Linked DNA regions of Homo sapiens: region 1 is linked to region 2. Evidence: promoter capture Hi-C in human tissues and cell types (Jung and others, 2019). All regions are on one chromosome and are shown on one strand. The core of a region is centred on a gene start or on the middle of the fragment in contact, and the rest is flanking DNA. Distances in the headings are between cores, read along the strand shown.

Region 1 (3,459 bases), core at 950-3,449, 310 kb before region 2:
AAGGAGGACCCTACAGCTAACTGGCTTACTGCCTGGAGAGAATTTCAGGCACAGTGCAGGGGAGGGGCACCCAGGCAGAGTCCAGAGTTCTTCCTAAACTGAAGAGAGGAAGCTGATATATCGTCTGGGGAGGCCAAAGAGGTTCACAGGGCAGAAGATTAGAGAAGAAAGACTTACACAGAAAAAAAATTCTGGAGATCTGAGCAGGGGGCCTCCCCAGCCACCCCACCAAGTCTTCAGCTGAACACCCATCAGCACACGCATGTGAGGAAACTACCTGAGGCCAGGGAAATAATTACCTGAAAGGACGGCAGAGAACAATATTCAGACCTCACACAGGAACAGGAATAATTCCTGTTACCAGCAACCATAATAGGAAACCTCGTTATTTCAAGGAAATTGGGTAGAGTACTCAGAAACATTTACCTCTGTGGTAAAGAAAAATAACCCCAGACTTAACGCTGTGCCGGTCCCGCCTAAAAATGCTTAAAAGCAAGACCCAAAAGGATCAAACTGTTTCCAAGTAACCAGTGTTCCAGAACAAAGTTCAAGAATATTTAAAAGAATACAAAAATATCTAGCACCCAACAAGCTAAGACTCACAATATCCAACTGAAAAATCATCAGGTGGGTAGGTGCAGTAGCTTATGTCTATAATCCCAGCCCTTTGGGAGGCCGAGGTGGGAGGATCACTTGAGGCCAGGAGTTCAAAGCCAGCCTGGGCAATGTAGCAAGACCCCCATTTCCACAAAAACAATTTAAAAAAATCAGCTAGGCATGGTGGCACATGCTTGTAGCCCTCGCTACTTGGGAGGCTGAGGCAGGAGGATCTCTTGAGCCCAGGAGTTTGAGGCTACAGTGAGCTATGATCATACCACTGCACTCCAGCCTGAGCAACAGAGCAAGACCCTGTCTCTTAAAATAAATTTTTAAAAATAACCAGGCACGCAAAGAAGAAATCAGGACCCATAATGAAGAGAAAAATCAAACTAACTCAGAAATAACAAGATAATTAGTAGATAAGGACATTGCAACAGTTGTAACTGTACTCCACAAGAAATTAGAGAATGGATTGAGAATGTTAAAGAAAAAAAATTTTTTTAAAGACTTAAAATTTTTTAAAGACCCAGTGGCTCATGCCTATAATCCCAGCATTTTGGGAGGCCAAGGTGGGCGGATCACTTGAGGTCAAGAGTTCGAGACCAGCCTGGCCAACATGGTAAAATCCCGTCTCCACTAAAAATACGAAAATTACTAAAATACTAAAAATTAGCCAAGTGTGGTGGTGGGCACCTGTAATCCCAGCTACTCAAGAGGCTGAGGGAGGAGAATCACTTGAATCCAGGAGGCAGAGGTTGCAGTGAGCAGAGATTGGACCATTGCACTACAGCTTGGGTGACAAGAAAACACCGTCTCAAAAAAAAAAAGAAAGAAAGAAAAGAAAAAGACTTAAATTAGACTTGTAGAAATGAGTATTACAATGACTGAAATGAAAAGTACACTGGATAGGGTGCTGTGGCTCATGCCTGTAATCCCAGCACTTTGGGAGACTGAGGCGGGCAGATCACCTGAGTTCAGAAGTTTGAGACCAGCCTCACCAACATGGTGAAAACTTGTCTCTACTAAAAATACAAAAACTAGCCAGGCGTGGTGACATACACCTGTAGTCCCAGCTACTCAGAAGGCTGAGGCAGGAGAATCGCTTGAACCTGGGAGGTGGAGGCTGTATTGAGCCAAGATTGCACGACTGAACTCCACCTGAGTGACAGAGTGAGACTCCGTCTCAAAAACAAACAAACAAAAAAACAAACACTGGATAGGCTGAACAGGAGATTAGACACTGTAGAAGAGGTGAGTGTGAACCTGAAGCCATACCAACAGAAACTATCCAAAGTGAAACACAGAGATAAAAAAAGACAAAAAATGAACAGAGCTATCAATTCAGAAGATGTTCTACAATTTCTACAAATGTTCTTAAAGTTGTTCTACAGCTCAGCGATGGCTCTGTTCATTCTTTTTGAAGTAGAACAACTTCAAGCAGCTGATTATATATGCAATCAGGGCATCTAGAGGAGGCTGGGCTGGAGACAGAAAAAAAAGTTAAGATATAATAGCCACGGTGGCTCACGCCTGTAATCCCAGCACTTTGGGAGGCCAAGGCGGGCAGATCACGAGGTCAGGAGATCAAGACCATCCCCGTCTCTACTAAAAATACAAAAAATTCGCCGGGCGAGGTGGCGGGCGCCTGTAGTACCAGCTACGCGGGAGGCTGAGGCAGGAGAATGGCGTGAACCCCAGGGGGCGGTGCCTGCAGTGAGCCGAGATCGCGCCACTGCACTCCAGCCTGGGCGACAGTGAGACTCCGTTTCAAAAAAAAAAAAAAAAGATATAATAGCCAAAATTTCCCCAAATGTGATGAAAAGGATAAACCCAGAGATCCAAGAAGCTCAGAAACCCTAAGCTCAAGAAACACGATGAAAAATACACCAAAGCACATCATATCATAGTCAAATAATCTAAAATCAGCAATAGAGAAAAATCTTAAAAGCATCCACAAAAAAGATGACATTACATACAGAGAAACAAAGAATGATAGCCGACTCTTCCTACAATGCAAGCCAGACAGTGGAGTAACATATTTAAAGTACTGGCAAAAAAACAGTCAAGCTGTAATTCTATAGCAAGTGAAACTATTTTTCAAAAATGCAGGTTTCACAATGAGATACCATCTCATACTAGAAAGAATGACTATTACTAAAACATCACACACACACACACAAAAACAGATACTGGTGAGGCTGTGGAGAAAAGGGAGTGTTTATACACTGTTGGAGGGAATGTTCAGCCCCTGTGAAAAGCGATTTGGAGATTTCTCAAAGAACTTAAAGGGCCGGGCGTGGTGGCTCACGCTTGTAATCCCAGCACTTTGGGAGGCCGAGGCGGGCGGATCACGAGGTCAGGAGATCGAGACTACGGTGAAACCCCGTCTCTACTAAAAATACAAAAAATTAGCCGGGCGTGGCGGCGGGCGCCTGTAGTCCCAGCTACTCGGAGAGGCTGAGGCAGGAGAATGGCGTGAACCCGGGAGGCGGAGCTTGCAGTGAGCCGTGATCGCGCCACCGCATTCCAGCCTGGGCAACAGAGGGAGACTCCATCTCAAAAAAAAAAAAAAAAAAAGGAACTTAAAAGAGAACTATGATCTGACCCAGCAATCCTGTTACTGGGTATATATCCAAAAGAAAACAAATCATTCTACCAAAAAGACACATGCACTATGTTAATTATAGCTCTATTTACAATAGCAAAGACATGGAATCAACCTAGGTGCCCATCAGCAGTGGATTGGATAAAGAAAATATGGTCTATATACACCATGTAATACTATGGAGCCATAAAATGAATGATATCATGTCCCTTGCAGCAACATGGATGCACATGGAGGCCATTACCCTCAGTAAA
Region 2 (3,783 bases), core at 268-2,767:
ACAGGTTCTGTGGCAGGCCAGGCGTCACTAACACAGGCCTCCATAACAACTGTTTCAGTACTGACTGAGTGGTGAAGTTAAATATTAAAAGCTGAAAAAAGCCAGTACCTTTATACAGAGGCTGGATGTAACAAAAGCCCACCAAGAGTTTTGCTTAGGCCTTTCCTGGGCCTTAAAGCATGACAAAACAATGAAGGAATTCTTAACAGGACCTATTTAGAATTAAACAAGTTTTATTGTGAGTCTGAAGAAACTCCCCAGGCCTCCACAAACAAGTTTATTGGGCGTCTGAAGGAACTCCCCAAACCTCCGTGATTTAGCAGGAGACAAGATAAGGGTAATCATCCCCCGCACCTGGACCCATTTAGATTAAATAAATAGACTGAGGCTCCAGAATAAGGTCCTCAGGACCCAGACCTCAGTTACAGATTAAAGAAGTTAATCACTTATGTCTTTAGATGAATGCACACTTACTTGTAGACATATACCTTAGAAGGTATATATGCTCTGGAAAACTTTGTAATATTGAGTTGGTCTGGTGGTAATTTCTAGGCCTTCTCCCTGTTACCGGTTGCAGAAATAAAACCTCTCTTCCTCCCCATTTGATCTGCATCTCGTTATTGGGCCTAGAGAAATAGCAGCCGGACCCTCAGTTTGGTCCGGGAAGTTCTTCCATCCTCCCTCGCCTGCTCTCTGTGGCCACTGCACTCACTGTTGCTGTTGCTGTTCCGGTCTCTGTGAGGTTCACCTAGTGGACTGGCTGGACATTTCTAGGGGGCACCTCAGATACCTCACCAACTTGCTGGATCTGATCCTTGGATTTCGATTCATAAATTGTGCCAAAATACGAAGTGGCTAATTTACACAGTACTTAGCCAGATGACCGAAGGACTCAGTACCCGAGGGCCCCTAACAGAAAACACAGACCACATTTCCTTTACTCTGGCCCTTTTCCTGGGGGTCCTTCCTATACCACTGACACTGTTCCTGTGTAGGCGGGGCTAGAGGGGAGACTAAGCCCTGGGAGTAGCTTTCGGATCAGAGGAAGTCCTGCTCTTACAGTGACAGGGGCTGAATTAAATTCCCAGGTTGGGGCCACCACTTTTTAGTCTGACCCCTGCAGCCGGAGTCTCCCAGAGCCCTTGGGAACTCGGCAGCGGAGAGAAGGCTGAGGGACACCGCGGGCAGGGAGGAGAAGGGAGAAGAGCTTTGCTCCGTTAGGATCTGGCTGGTGTCTCAAGCGCACAGCCAAGTCGCTGTGGACCTAGCAAGGGCTGGATGGACTCGTGGAGCCTCAGGGCTGGGTAGGGAAGCTGGCGAGGCCGAGCCCCGCCTTGGGCTTCTGGGCGCCCTGACTTCGCTCCCGGAACCCTCGGGCCTGGGAGGCGGGAGGAAGTCTTACTGAGTGCAGCCCCAGGCGCCCTCTCCCGGGCCTCCAGAATGGCGCCTTTCGGGTTGTGGCGGGCCGAGGGGCGGGGTCGCAGCAAGGCCCCGCCTGTCCCCTCTCCGGAGCTCTTATACTCTGAGCCCTGCTCGGTTTAGGCCTGTCTGCGGAATCCGCACCAACCAGCACCATGCCCATGATACTGGGGTACTGGGACATCCGCGGGGTGAGCGAGGGTCCGCTGGACGGTGGGACGAGGGCGCAGGGGAGGGAAGTGCGAAGCAGCTGCGGGACGGACTCTAGGGACCGTTCCTCTTCAGGGCTGCCCGCCTCAGAAGGGCCTGTGCATGCCGCTGTGTGTGTGTTGGGGGTGTGGGCGGGTAGAGGAGGCAACGGGTACGTGCAGTGTAAACTGGGGGCTTCCCTGGTGCAGACAAAGTCAGGGACCCTCCATCTCTGACGCGACCTGCGGGCCATCTCTCCCAGCTGGCCCACGCCATCCGCCTGCTCCTGGAATACACAGACTCAAGCTATGAGGAAAAGAAGTACACGATGGGGGACGGTAATGGCACCCTCGTGTTCGGGCTCTGCCCACTCACGCTAAGTTGGCACCAAGCAACCCATGGTGGCCACCTGTGGCTGCCTCTGCAGGCCTCCCCTGCTGGAGCTGCAGGCTGTCTCTTCCCTGAGCCCCGGTGAGGGAGCCCTCTGGCCTTGCAAGGCAGAATGCTGGGGTGGGATGCTGGGCCCCCTGTCTAATTGGGACGGGTGTCCCTCAGGGCTTGCCTAAACCCTGGAAGCCTTAGCTGTGTGGGGTCCAGAGCCCTCAGCGGGATTCTTTGTCCCTGAACCCTGGGATGTGGGACTGAGTGGTCAGATTCTAGATCCACCTGTCTCAGGGATCTTGCCACTGGCTCCGTGGGAGGGTCCCCGGGAAGGAGGGCTGGGCTCTGGGGAGGTTTGTTTTCACTTCTTCTTCCCCACCACAGCTCCTGATTATGACAGAAGCCAGTGGCTGAATGAAAAATTCAAGCTGGGCCTGGACTTTCCCAATGTAGGTGCAGGGGAAGGGGCGGTTTTGGGGGAAAGTGCAACGTGTCTCTGACTGCATCTCCTCTCCCCAGCTTAGAGGTGTTAAGATCAGGAGTCTTCTGCCCAATTCCTCTCACTCCTGGCTGTCTAAACAGTCCTTCCATGATGTTCTGTGTCCACCTGCATTCGTTCATGTGACAGTATTCTTATTTCAGTCCTGCCATGAGCAGGCACAGTGAGTGCCCGGTCTCCTCTCTGCTCTTGCTTATGGGAAGGGGATGCTGGGGAGCCTGGTGGCCCAACTGAGCTTCGCCGGTTTCCCATCCATCCAGCTGCCCTACTTGATTGATGGGGCTCACAAGATCACCCAGAGCAACGCCATCTTGTGCTACATTGCCCGCAAGCACAACCTGTGTGAGTGTGGGTGGCTGCAATGTGTGGGGGGAAGGTGGCCTCCTCCTTGGCTGGGCTGTGATGCTGAGATTGAGTCTGTGTTTTGTGGGTGGCAGGTGGGGAGACAGAAGAGGAGAAGATTCGTGTGGACATTTTGGAGAACCAGACCATGGACAACCATATGCAGCTGGGCATGATCTGCTACAATCCAGAATTTGTGAGTGTCCCCAGTGAGCTGCATCTGACAGAGTTTGGATTTGGGGCCAGGACTCTTGCATTCCTGCACACACTGGTCTTAAGTCCCTGGTACCATTCATCCTCCAAGTGCTTTCCCATACTATCAGCAGTTATTCTCACGACTCCAATGTCATGTCAACAAAAGCAGAGGCAATTCCCACCAACCTTAGGACACGATCCAGGCATCCCAGGGTAGAAATTCAGTTCCTGTATGGTAAAGTTTGTGTTCAGAATCTCCTTCATCAGCTCTGGCCTCTGACTTCTGTCCTGGGTCATTTCTGTCAGCCAGTTCACATCACCTGCCTGCTCCTAGAATATGCAGACTCAAGTAGAAGACTCAGGAATGTAATGGCACCCTCGAATTGCATCTTCTCCTCAACAGTTTTCTGAGTGCTGTCATTGACATGCACAGGGATCTGCGCATTTTCATAACAGACAGCTCAGAGGCAGTCAGAGGGCCTTTATTCCTCTCCCTCCTTCCTTTCAACTTGAACTTCTCATCTCCCTGGAAACTAGTCAATGTTCATTGTTTTCTTCTGCCACCCCATTAGAAGGAACTTTCTACTTTCCCTGAGCTCCCTTAGTTCTTTGCATCCTTGATTCTGCTGGTCTGGATCCAGAGGCTGCCAGGTGCTTGGGCGCTCCTGGGGCTGACCCAGAGGCTATTGGGAGGTCAGTGAGGACAGATTCAGGGACAGCATCTCATTCCTCTCTGCCTTCTGATCAGTTTAGATAGG

Evidence for each region. Contacts are between HindIII fragments. The study calls those that stand out against the background at their distance.
Region 1: a fragment that was not itself captured here is called in contact with the fragment with the promoter of GSTM1 in region 2 in 1 of the 25 tissues and cell types used here (adrenal gland).

Annotation. Positions count from the first base shown.
Region 1 is chr1:109,373,173-109,376,631 of GRCh38, forward strand. All of the region lies in intron 1 of SORT1 (sortilin 1), which reads right to left. Among named protein-coding and RNA genes, the nearest start is that of SORT1, 23 kb to the right of the region's middle. The HindIII fragment of the contact is 7,210 bases long and covers 1-3,459 here.
Region 2 is chr1:109,686,300-109,690,082 of GRCh38, forward strand. It overlaps GSTM1 (glutathione S-transferase mu 1), which reads left to right and starts at 1,518. Exons shown (of 8, transcript NM_000561.4): 1 at 1,518-1,610; 2 at 1,871-1,946; 3 at 2,374-2,438; 4 at 2,749-2,830; 5 at 2,926-3,026. The coding sequence starts at 1,575. RefSeq lists an enhancer at 1,568-1,617. The HindIII fragment of the contact is 14,943 bases long and covers 1-3,783 here.